2 separate regions of the Homo sapiens genome follow, and region 1 is linked to region 2. The links are contacts of gene promoters, found by promoter capture Hi-C in human tissues and cell types (Jung and others, 2019). All regions are on one chromosome and are shown on one strand. Each heading gives the region's core, a stretch centred on a gene start or on the middle of the fragment in contact. The rest is flanking DNA. Distances are from core to core; before and after follow the strand shown.

What was found. The method cuts DNA at HindIII sites, captures the fragments that hold promoters and counts their contacts. A contact is called where the count stands out against the background at its distance.
Region 1: a contact is called between a fragment that was not itself captured here and the fragment with the promoter of IL6ST in region 2, in 1 of the 25 tissues and cell types used here (dorsolateral prefrontal cortex).

The regions. Positions count from the first base shown.
Region 1 is chr5:56,469,129-56,475,075 of GRCh38, forward strand. The region is part of intron 1 of LINC01948 (long intergenic non-protein coding RNA 1948); the gene reads right to left. Among named protein-coding and RNA genes, the nearest start is that of LINC01948, 9.7 kb to the right of the region's middle. The HindIII fragment of the contact is 4,062 bases long and covers 1,079-5,140 here.
Region 2 is chr5:55,990,415-55,996,509 of GRCh38, forward strand. It overlaps IL6ST (interleukin 6 cytokine family signal transducer), which reads right to left and starts at 4,549. Exons shown (of 17, transcript NM_002184.4): 1 at 4,370-4,549. IL6ST-DT (IL6ST divergent transcript) reads left to right here and starts at 4,753. Exons shown (of 2, transcript NR_102755.1): 1 at 4,753-5,140. RefSeq lists cis regulatory regions at 3,317-5,635, 4,329-5,002, a silencer at 4,280-4,759 and an enhancer at 4,591-5,102. The HindIII fragment of the contact is 11,738 bases long and covers 1-6,095 here.

The DNA of each region.
Region 1 (5,947 bases), core at 1,860-4,359, 480 kb after region 2:
GGAGGAAATTAACATGTTACACATCAGCATTGGTCTTTGTCTGTTTTTTATTAAGTATGTTCCCAAAGCACTTCATAGGGGAAACTAAAGACACGTGGAATGTTTAAAGAGCACTGCACATCCAAATCATTTGATTCCCAGCTACAAGTCATTAGGGTGATATTATTAACCTCAAGCACACTTGGGAAATGTAGGTAAAGGACTGACAAATTTGGAAGGTCTAAAGTAGAGATTACATTTGTGCAATTTCAAATTTTAGCTAAATGAGTATTTTAAAAGCAAAGTATATTAGGTGGTTTCTGTGTGCCAGATACTGTTCTAAATGCTTTCTATATATTTTATTTCAGTATCATAAAAATCCCATGGACTAGGTACTATTATTAATCCCACTTTACAGTTGGGGAAATTGGTGTTCAGCATGGTTGGTAACTGGCTCAAGGCTACTGAGCTACTTAGGTGGCAGAGTCAGGAATGTCTAACTCCAAAATGTAGGCTTTTAACAAGTATGTTATATTGCCTCTCAATACCTAGAATACAAGGGTAATTAAAAAAATAAGACACAAGAATTTTTGAGATTATTCATTCGTTTTGTGTATGTTTAGTGATGGTGTGTCTATGCCAGGAACTACACATGAGGAGCTGAAGATACAGTTGAAAACTGACTAGGTTCCTGCCCTGTGGCATTTACATTCTAATCTAGACAGAAAAAAATACATAACCATAGAAAAAAATAAAATTAATGTAAGCTGTAGTAAGTGCTATGAGAAAGACAAAGATCCTGATATATTAAATAAGGAAGGAGGACTCTCTTAGCATAAGTTCTCTGTGGAAAGCTTGGCAAAGAATTGCACATAGGTGGTTTCTTTTGGGAAGTGATCACAGGGAAGAGCAGTGGGGACTGGGGGAAAAAAAAAAGAAAGAGGAAAAGCTGAAACTAGGGTGCATTCTCAAGTTGGTCACTGCTGTGTGCCATGGGAACAATTCTGCCGGGACACCAAAGAGTAGAGGAGAATGCACCTCAGAACTGTCCAACCCATAGAAGGAAGAGATAAACACGGGTCCACCACCTCCCAATGGTCACGAGTTGTTCATTTCCTCCCGTTCCTAGGCTGTGCGTGCAAAGCTCCCATCGCAATACCAGAGAAATCCTGGGCCAGAAACTGAAAGAAGCCAGGTACAGCTGAGGCCAGGGGTTGCCAGGTACTGTCACCCAGACAAAGTTTGTTGCTACGATGGCTGGCCAAGAGGTGGGCTGAGTGGGCTGTGAGGACACACAAGGTGACCAATACAGAGACCTGTGTTAGGGGGCTGTGTCAGAGAAAGCTTCCCTGTGGAGGTGGCTTTTGTGATGAGATTTCAGGAGGACAAAGAGCTAAGCATGGTGAGAGCTGAGAGAAGAACATTTCCAAGCATAGGAACCAGCCATTGAAAGGCCCTCAGAAAGAGGTAGCATCTTTCAGGAACTGACACCCAGGGTAGCTGTGATAAGGAAAGGTGAGAAGCAGCCCAGGATGTCATAGGGGTGCAGTGCCAGGTCACACAGAGGCTTGGAGAACATGATAAGGATTTCATTTCTAGTGAATACAAACTCATTGAAGGGTCATAAAAATGCACTCTATTAACCTCCAAACAAGGGATCACAAGAGTTTCAGAGCTGAAAAAGAACCATAGGTGTGAAGCTGAGAGGTCATTCTATACAAGAAAGAACAAACTGGTTGATAGTTCCATTGGCCAAAGGTCCATACTGGGGCCAAGAACAAGGGCTTCCCTCAAAGTCAACAGGGCCAAATTTGTTGTGCACTGCTGAGTTGAGGGAGCTAGTCCGTAGTTCCAGTCTCTGACACAGAAATTGTTGGTAAGAACAACTGAGAACCAAGGGTGGGATGGGATGAGGGTCGGGACTCGATGGATAATATTTGAAGAACTTCTAAGAGTCAGGGTGTCTTACATTTTATTTTATTTTATTTTTGAGATGGAGTCCCCCTCTGTTGCTCAGGCAGGAGTGCAATGGCATGATCTCAGCTCACTGCAACCTCCACCTCCCAGGTTCAAGCAATTCTTCTGCCTCAGCCTTCCAAGTAGCTGGGACTACAGGCACACACCACCACGCCTGGCTAATTTTTGTATTTTTAGTACAGCCGGGGTTTCATCATATTGGCCAGGCTGGTCTTGAACTCCTGACCCTGTGGTCCGCCCACCTCGGCCTCCCAAAGTGCTGGGATTACAGGCGTGAGCCACCCTACATTTTCTTTGGTGCCAGCATAGATCATTGCTTTTAAAGAAAAGTCTCAAATCTCTAAGACTTGGGGTATTAGAACTCTGAAAGAGACTCTTGTACTGGGAGCTCCTGAGTCTCCCCACTTGAGCTTCAGTTTTATCTTCCTCTGATAAGTCTTTCACTTTGATTTCTCCTGTATCTGCTGTGCTGGGCCCAAAGGAGGTATTAACATTCTGGTCCAAGCCTCAACAAAACCCCTTACCCTTGAGATATTTGTTGAACAGGAATTGCCTATGTTTATTTAAACATATTTGCCACATGATTAATGAGCAACATAAAACGCTTACACCTGGGAATCATGAAACTTGTAATTTCCATGCTCCTTGCCTATCTGACCTTTCCTTAGCTCACAGGTACATCAATACACATCCTGTCTCTGTAATACCTTTGGTGGTTGTGTTAGAGCGGACTAACTGCTTAACAAGTCCCAAATTCCAGTGACTTAACACAGCAAAGTTTATCTTTCATTCTGGTCACATTCCCTTACAGAGCTACTGCAAAGTTCTATTCCATGCAGTCATTTAGGAATCCAGGCTCATTCCTTCTTATGGCTCTATCCTCTTCTGAGTTTTTGAAATCTTCTCCATTTGGCCAGTGTAAGGCAAAGAGCACACGTGGAAAAGGCACCACTGCTCTCAGGTGAGGCACATCCACTCTGATGGAAACTAGTCTTACAGCCCACCCTGGTGCACAGGGATTAAGAGGTGTAATCTATTGGGATCCCAAGAATAGGGGACCTTGGGTATTGTGAGCACCAGCAGCCCCTACCACAGTGGTGGAGGAAAACAAAGCACTATTAACCTTCCAAGAAAAATATGGAAGCTGCACATATGCTTTATCATGTAATATAGGCCAGGGTCAGGGGAGTATGCTTGGCTTCCTAAAGTGCATGCAGAAACAATGTAGAGTACACATTGCTATCACCAGAGCTTAGAAGAAACTCAAAGAGCCTGGGCGCGGTGGCTCATGCCTGTAATCCCAGCACTTTGAGAGGCCGAGGGGGACGGGTCGCTTGAGGTCAGGAGTTCGAGACCAGCCTGGCCAACATGGTGAAACCCCATCTCTACTAAAAATACAAAAATTAGGCCAGGCGTGGTGGCTCACGTCTGTAATCCCAGCACTTTGGGAGGCCGAGGAAGGCGGATCATGAGGTCAGGAGATTGAGACCATCCTGGCTAACACGGTGAAACCCAGTCTCTACTAAAAATACAAAAACAAAATTAGCCAGGTGTGGTGGTGGGCACCTGTAGTCCTAGCTACTAGGGAGGCTGAGGCACGAGAATGGCGTGAACCTGGGAGGCAGAGTTTGCAGTGAGTCGAGATTGCGCCACTGCATTCCAACTTGGGCGACAGAGCGAGACTCCGTCTCAAAAAAAAAAAAAAAAAAAAAATTAGCTGGGCATTTTGGCGCATTCCTGTAACCCCAGCTACTTGGGAGGCTGAGGCAGGAGTATTGCTTGAACCCAGGAGGTGGAGGTTTTAGTGAGCTGAGATTGCACCATTGCACTCCAGCCTGGGCAACAGAGTGAGACTCTGTCTCAAAAAAAAAAAGAAAAAGAAAAAGAAGAAACTCAAAGAATATGATATGTATTAGGACAGCAATTTTAAAAATATTACTACACTACTTATTCCAAATAATAAATATTGAAGAAATTTTAAGTGAAATATATTTAGGCGTCTTTTTCTCTCTCTGACTCTTTAGAAATTGTAAAACTTCTGAGCCTGCAGGTCTTCTTTTTTCCTTTTAATTGTGGTAAAATACACATAAAATTTCCCGTCTTAATCAGGTGTAAGTGTACAATTCAGTAGTATAGAGTACATGGCATGGTTGTGCAACCAATCTCCAGGACTCTTTCCATAAACCCAGAATAATTAGTTAACAGTCAAGAACAGGAATAAAATCTAGATTTACACCTCCCACATAAAGATCATAAACATTTCTTTAGAGTGACAATAATGTTATTTTGCCTAAAGCTTGATTTTCAGTATATTGATCATTATCGAGCAATGTTATTTATTATTTTGTTTTTTAACTGTGGTAAAACTTACATAATGTAATTTGCCATCTTAACCATTTTTAAGTGTATAGTTCAGTAGCGTTATGTGTAGTCACATTTCTGAGCAACAATCTCTAAGACTTTTTCATCTAGAAAAACTGAAGCTCTTTATCCATTAAACAATTCTTTCTTCCCCCAGCACCTGGAAACCACAATTCTACTTTCCGTCTCTTAAGAATTTGACTACTCTAGGTACCTTATGTAAGCAAGATTGTATGGTAGCTGTCTTTTTATAATTGGCTTATTACTTACTATAATGTCCTCGAGGTCCATCCATGCTGTAGAATGTGTCAGAATTTCCTTCCTTTTTAAGGCTGAGTAATATTCTATTGTATGTATATATCACATTTTGTTTATTCATCTACCCAGTGATAGACACTTCGGTTGCTTCTACCTTTTGGCTATTATGAGTAATGCAAGAGCAGCCGTTATTAAGGTAAGTTTTGAAGATGGAGAATCACAATGAACAACACACTCACTGGTGTGTGCGTGTGTGTGTGTGTGTGCGCGTGTGCACATGTTCATGCTCTTGTCACCTTCCTCCTACTCACAGACTCAGAGTGTGGCAGAAAACTAATAATTGAATCTAGGACACTTGATTGTACCATTTTCTTTACTCCCATAGGACAGGTTCTTATGTAATGAAAGTATCTCTTAAATTTCATCTACTAAAATGATAATTTTCTGAAAGAATATGGGACATTGTCCAAGTAAAGGGGTTTGAAGTTGCACTAGTTAATTACTCTCAGAGTTAATCCCTCAATAAGTTACTTGTAAGTACCTATTTGGTATTCTATTCAGCGGAGGTTCTGGTACATAAAAACAGTGCACAGTCCTTTCCCTGGTCATAGTTTAGGTATAACGTAAAATACTAGGCTAACACTTTCAAATGGTGTCTACTGAACATCAGTGTTCAGTGTGATGTTAGTAGATGCTTCATAATAATAGCGTTCCATGGTCAAATATGCTTGACCATGGAACACTGTGATACAATTTTTAAATTTTTATACAAACACAACTTAATTGAGGCCCAAGCACAGGGGTGATGGGGTGGGAGGGGAGTATGTCTGTGTTGAGTTCAGTTACGGGAGCGATTTAGCATCTAGTCAAGGCAGAGAAGTCAATCATTGAGCAATCACTGGTAAACAAAATGACAACTCATCTAGATATCACACATTATAATTTTCTCGAATTAAAATCTTTCTATTGGCAACTTTCAAAACTCTTGTGCATCACTGGGCTCATTAGGTAAACTGTGTAATGTCCGGGTGTCTCATGGTGGTAGATTTCTAGCCCATAATGGTGCCAAAAGTTGCCCACCCATCAAACGCACCTCTTTCACCACTCTCAACTTTAAGCCCCCGGAGTTGTAGATGTATCTCTCATGGGCTCACTCTTCTAGAAAAGGTGGGCTTTTCTGGACATAGTCCCCCAAACAATGCTGAGGCCCATGCCATGAGGGCCATCACCCAGGGGATAACAGGGAGGTGAGGGCCTTCCTAGGCTGTGACCCTAGTGATGCAGGAGCAGCTCTCTTGCAGCTCTCACTGAGGCAATGTCTCCCATGACCTAAGCAGAAATGCGGAGGAATCCCATCCACACTCCTGGAAGC
Region 2 (6,095 bases), core at 3,299-5,798:
AATGTAGTTGAATTCTTTCCTTTATCCTCTTTCTTGTCTCCTTTACTGAATTCTCTGCTAGCTTTTATCTCCAGGCTATGAAGGTACCCAAAGATAAAGTACTGGGCATCGACTTTTCTTTTTAAATACCAACTTCTTTGAAGACATGACTTCAACTACTACCTTCAAACAAAATAATTTCAAGAATTTTGGCTTGGATCTTTCTTTTAATTCCAGTTACATTTCATCTTCTTAGATATTCTGTCTCTGAGTCTTATCAATTTAAGAGGTCTAAAAACAATACACCATAGGTACATGCTCATGAACACATATACACATAAATGCCCACCCACTTTTTTTGTTTATTATACTTTAAGTTCTAGGGTACATGTGCACAACATGCAGGTTACATATGATACATGTGCCATGTTGGTGTGCTGCACCCGTTAACTAGTCATTTACATTAGGTATATCTCCTAATGCTATCCCTCCCCCCTCCCCCTACCCCATGACAGGCCCTGGTGTGTGATGTTCTCCACCCTGTGTCCAAGCGTTCTCATTGTTCAATTCTCACCTATGAGTGAGAACATGCGGTGTTTGGTTTTCTGTCCTTGCAACAGTTTGCTCAGAATGATGGTTTCTAGCTTCATCCATGTCCCTACAAAGGACATGAACTCATCCTTTTTTACGGCTGCATAGTATTCCATGGTGTATATGTGCCACATTTTCTTAATCCAGTCTATCATTGATGGACATTTGAATTGGTTCCAAGTCTTTGCTATTGTGAATAGTGCTGCAATAAACATACGTGTGCATGTATGTCTTTATAGCAGCATGATTTATAATCCTTTGGGTATATGCCCAGTAATGGGATGAATGCCCACACACTTTTTAAAAAGTCACAAGGACTTACCATTTTTCCCTATCTACAAACAACTCATCCTCTTCAACTGCCTAAGTCAATGGAGTCCATCGTTTCTCTCATCTATGCAGTACATTTTAGCTTTTCTCAGTTACAAATCTTATCCTGTCTTCTCTCCCATAATATCTTTCCCACCCATCTCTTCTTTTTACTCTCTACCACAAACTAACCTAATTTGGACATTGATCACCTCAATAATTTCAACTGTGTTCCTGCTTCCAGTCTCTTTCCTCCCCACCAAGCATTCTGAACATTGTTGGTGGATCACTCTCTCTACAACACAACTTTAAACCTGTCATTCTTCTCCTCAACAGCTTTTTAAAGGGTGAATAATAATGCCAAATATTCTAACTATTTAAGAACCTAAAATTTTGGCTTTGATGTGCCTATCCAATCTATCTTTTCCAATACTCAAGTTTCTCTATTCTAAAAAAAAAAAAAAATCCTTTCCTCAGACTCCTCCCTCAAGCTACCTTACTACTATACTTCTAGAGAGAACTGCTTGCAATTGCAAGCAATCTGGCTTTTTTACTCCAATAATGCTGAAATTATTCTTGTAGTTTCCAAACTGCAAAGCAAATACTTAAGCTCCTCATTTTGCTTGACCACACCATGCCATTTATAATTCGGTCTTATCTTTCATCACTCCCTACTAACCATCCCTGTAGACTCAGCAAACCACTAGACTTCCTCTAACATACCTTGTTCTTTCAGTCTGTGCTTCTACATATATTATTCCAATGTCTTTCCTGACTCTGCTGTGCACTACAAACTGCTTTTGAAGTATCATCTCTTATATGGAATTTCCCCCCACTTCAAACATCTTTGCTGTCAGTGTACTCTTACATCATTCCCTAACAGGACTCAGAACACTGCACAGTAATTGTTTCACATATCTTGATATCCTCAGAATCTACCATAGTTTGAGGCACCTGGTGGACAATTAAGGGTGGGTTTTTATAGACTTTCTGGTATGATCTTATTTTCTATCTACTCGCTGTCGCTCAAGCGTACTGTATGGAGACGCAGGATGTATCATGGTTAAGAGGTCAGATTCTGAAGCCAGGCTGTCTATGTATGACCTTTAGATCTACCACTTAGCTGGGCAAATTAATTAACCTTCTTGTGCCTGGGTTTCCCTATGTGTAAAAAGAGGATTTTATCCTATTATTATTAGACCTACTTCATAATATTATGAAGATTAAATGCCTTAATATGGGCAAAGTGCTCAAAACAGCAACTGGCACAACATAAGCACTAAATATATTGCCTGTTTTAATTAATAGACCTTAGTTACTGCTGATCCTTTCCACAAGCTAGTCCTATATTATGTTCTATATTCTCCATTCTACATTTTGTCCTCCATTCGCTATTATTAATGGGCTGTCTTCATTTTTCCCTTTATCCAAATCCTACCCAGGTTTCAAGGCCAACTTCTGGTAAATCCTTTGCTCATTCCAATCCTTAAATGCTCACTCCAATCCTTAAACGATCATTCCCTAATTTTAATATCTACAGGATTTTCTGCATCACTCTGCATTTAATTAAAACTGCTTTGCATCCTTGTAGTTTTTTTCGTATAAGTTTGTCAATCCAATTATTATAAACTCTTTGAAGGTCCTGATTACATCTCCTGCACCTTTGTGAGTTCGTACAGCAGGTAGTAATTGCTTAGTATTTGCTGTGTAAAATAATAAAGCACAATAGGAACCTCAACTCTGATCATTCTGCCTTTGCAATCAAAGAAACGGAGAAGCTGTGAGAACATTCCATGCTTCTCTAGGAGCCAAGCTGCAAATGTATTAGGGCCAGAGAATTCTGACTCCCATTAAAATGAGCAGCTCTGAAAGGAGGGAGCGGGGAATCCCTCCCTGCCACTGTAGAGGATTTATGGGTTGCCCTTAAGTTCCCAAACCAAATTGTGGCACTGGGGTTTTTATGAGAAACGTGTCAACATGACAAAATGATTCAGAGCACAGGATTTGGAGTCACACAGATCTAGTTTTCAGCGAGACTCCTGTTTCCTTCTCTATAAAGGGGACATTTTAACACCTACTTCACATGTATTTAACTTTCGCCCTAACACTGAACTGAAGTGCAAAGCCTTGGAAACAAATTTAAATAAATTGAAAATACTGCAATTCACAAATAAGAGTGAGAACAACATTTTTAGTTACGTAAGACTATATTATATTAAATTAGGTGGCAGCAGTATTTATAATAATCTAAATTGCCTGTGAGAAAATTAAACTGGTATTGTCAATACATACTTAAAATAAGAAAAAAATCCCACTACAGTCTGTCCTTTTTGACACTTTCTCCTTCCTGTAATTTTTTTCTTTCACTCAAGATTAAAAACAAACGTTCAAGATTATCCCTAAAGAGAAATAGTTGGAAAGCACAATTTAATAGCAAGTTGGTTCTATAAATGTAATATTTCAGTTCATAGTTCAAAAATACTTCCAAATAGGAATTAACATGAATTTAAGAAATTAACATAATGGCACACAGCTAAACTGATGATCTGAGTCCGTAATTTCAAATTAAGAGTTGTTCCAACTTGAAGCTGGCAGTCATACACAGTTTAAAGGGTTTGTTTACAGCACTGTCAAAAGCAAATACCACAATCTTTCAGAAAATTCACCCTGGCATTCTAATAACTAGTTATTTTAAGGCAGTATAATTGTTGAAATACTTCACAAACTAAGCCAAAATGCGTTTCCTTCTGAAGGCAAAAAAAAAAAAAAAAAAAAAAGGTGACGTCTTATTTTTAACCTGTGATTTTTTTTTTTTTTCAGTTTCGGATTATGAAATAAAATGCTGTTCATCCACTGAAGAACAGACCCTTGCTTCCTGCACTATCTTCAAAAGTTTAGGTCGGAGGAGGTAAAATTTTAAAAACTGATTTGTTCTCCTTGGGATACAGTGAGATGTGGAATTCGTTAGGAATGATAATTATTAATAGAAAAGATCAAAAGAAGGAAAGAAACGTTAATAGTGTTTATAAGCATTGTGAACTTTCAACAAAGCTGAAACGTTACGATTTCAAGATGAAAAAACGGCTTTGGGGAAGGGAAATCCACCTCGAGAATGAAGACAAGTGCGGAGCGAATAGAATTTCAGGGGAGATGAAAAGGGGATTGGGAAAAACGTGGGATCTGGTAACAAAAAGGGGGGTTTGTTCTTGAAGGGCGTTCTGCGGGGCGGGCGTTAAGAGGGGTGCGTGCGTGCGCCTGGGTGAAGTTTGTACTCAGGGCTGCGATAATCGAGGTGACAAAGTTGTGGAAGTAGAATTCGGAGGTCCGGGAGCAGGAAGGGGAAGGAATGTGGGGATTTCCAGGCTGGGCTGACAAGTTCCGGGCGCTGCTCTCAGGGGGAAGGGAGGTCTCCTCGAGTGCCAGATAGCCCGTCCGAAACCACCGACACTCTAACTCCAGCTACGCGACCCAGCACCCGGCCCCTCCTCACCTCAGGCCGCGCCGCCTCGACCCTCCGCGTCTCCACAGCGCACGAACCCCTTGGCGCCAGGCTGGGCCAGACCCGTCGGCCTGGCAGGCGCGGCCCCCGGTTCAGCTGCGCCGGGGCGGCCCAGCGCGACTCCGCGGGCCTTTTGGCTGCTCGCCCCGGCTCCGGAACACTGTCAGATCCTTCTCCGCAGAGGTAGCGCGCCACCCCAGTCCCGCGGCGGGGCGGGGCGCTCCCCAATCCCGCCCAGCTGCGCCCCCGGCCGGCCAACGCTGCGCCCCGCCCCCTACCGGGACCTAGGCGCTGATTGGCCCCTGAGAGACCCTTTGCGCCCAGGCATTGGTCCAGTGGCCGCCTGTCGACGAGGGGGCGGGACTCCGAGGGGTAGCGATTCCCGTAACGCGGCTCTTCGCGTCCCGGATTCCGGTGGCTGCGTCCGCGTCGCCTCTCCCAGACTAGATCGAAGGGTTCCCCCCACCTCCCCTCTGTGGGCGGAAAGAGCGGAATGTTCCATTTTTCTGTGGAATAACGGGGTCATGAACTGGAGCCCGGGTGCTGCCCGCCGCCCGCTGCCCCCGCCCTCCCTTCTCGCCAGGGCGCCTGCGGCCTCTCTTCGCGGCCTTCCCCGAGGGACTCAGAGCCGCGAGGGACCGCCTAGCTCCCTTGGGGATGGGGAAGGCGTGGGAGCCTCTTGGGGAAAGTGAAGAGCTCGGTGGCCGTGACTCCGCACGAGACTGCGGCAGATTGTGGCGGCGGCTTCTCTCCAAGACTTACGTAAACGAGCCTTGCCACAGTACTTTTTTAAATTAGTAAATGAGTTTGGGTGCGATTGATCAGTGAGCCCCAGAGGTGGTGGCCCACCAAGCGACTAGTGTTTCTTTGCGGTTTGTACCTCCCCGTTTATGATAAAAAATACCGGGTAAAAACCTATTCATCCCGCCTCCGCCCCCCCCTTTCCCTCAGAAAATGGACCTCAAGGCTCATGATGTTTGTTTCTCCCCAAAGGAAGATGAGAATCTTGAGTTAAAAGATAAGGCATGTGCGTGCGTGCGTGTGGGGTGTGTGCGTGGGTGTCTGTAAAAGTAAACACCCAAAGGTAGAGGTTTTTGTGGAAGAATGAGAGGATATAGGAAGGAAATAATGGTTTAATGAACTTAAATTATATCCATAAATTAACAATTATAAAGTTCTTCATTATATTGAGGATTCAGATAGAGTAAAACATAGATCGAATTTTAATCTCTTAGTTGTTGATCAGATAATTTATAAAAGGGCAAAGTGGGCCTGCTAACGGAGTCGCAGGCAAAGTAGATGGTGCTGCAGCTGATGTGTTCAGCTCTTGCTCCTCCCTGTCATCCTATATCTAACCTATAGATTGTGACCAGATTCTGTTCTAGCTTTGCCATTTAGAGGGGTGTTTATTTTAAAACAAATTTTTATAAAAATTTGTTAAATTGAAAATTTTGTATAGATCCAGGAAACTTGATTTTTTTGTTGTTGTTCACAGTCTCACTCTGTCACCCAGGCTGGAGTGCAGTGGCTGGATCATGCTCACCGCACGTTCAAATTCCTGGGCTCTAGCGATCCTCCCACCTCAACCTCCCAAGTATCTCAGACTACAGGTGCCCCTACAATACCTGGCCAATTTTTAAAATTTTTGGAGAGACAAGATTTTGGTATGCTGACCCGGCTGGTCTTGAACTGCTGGCAACAAACGATCCTCCGGCCT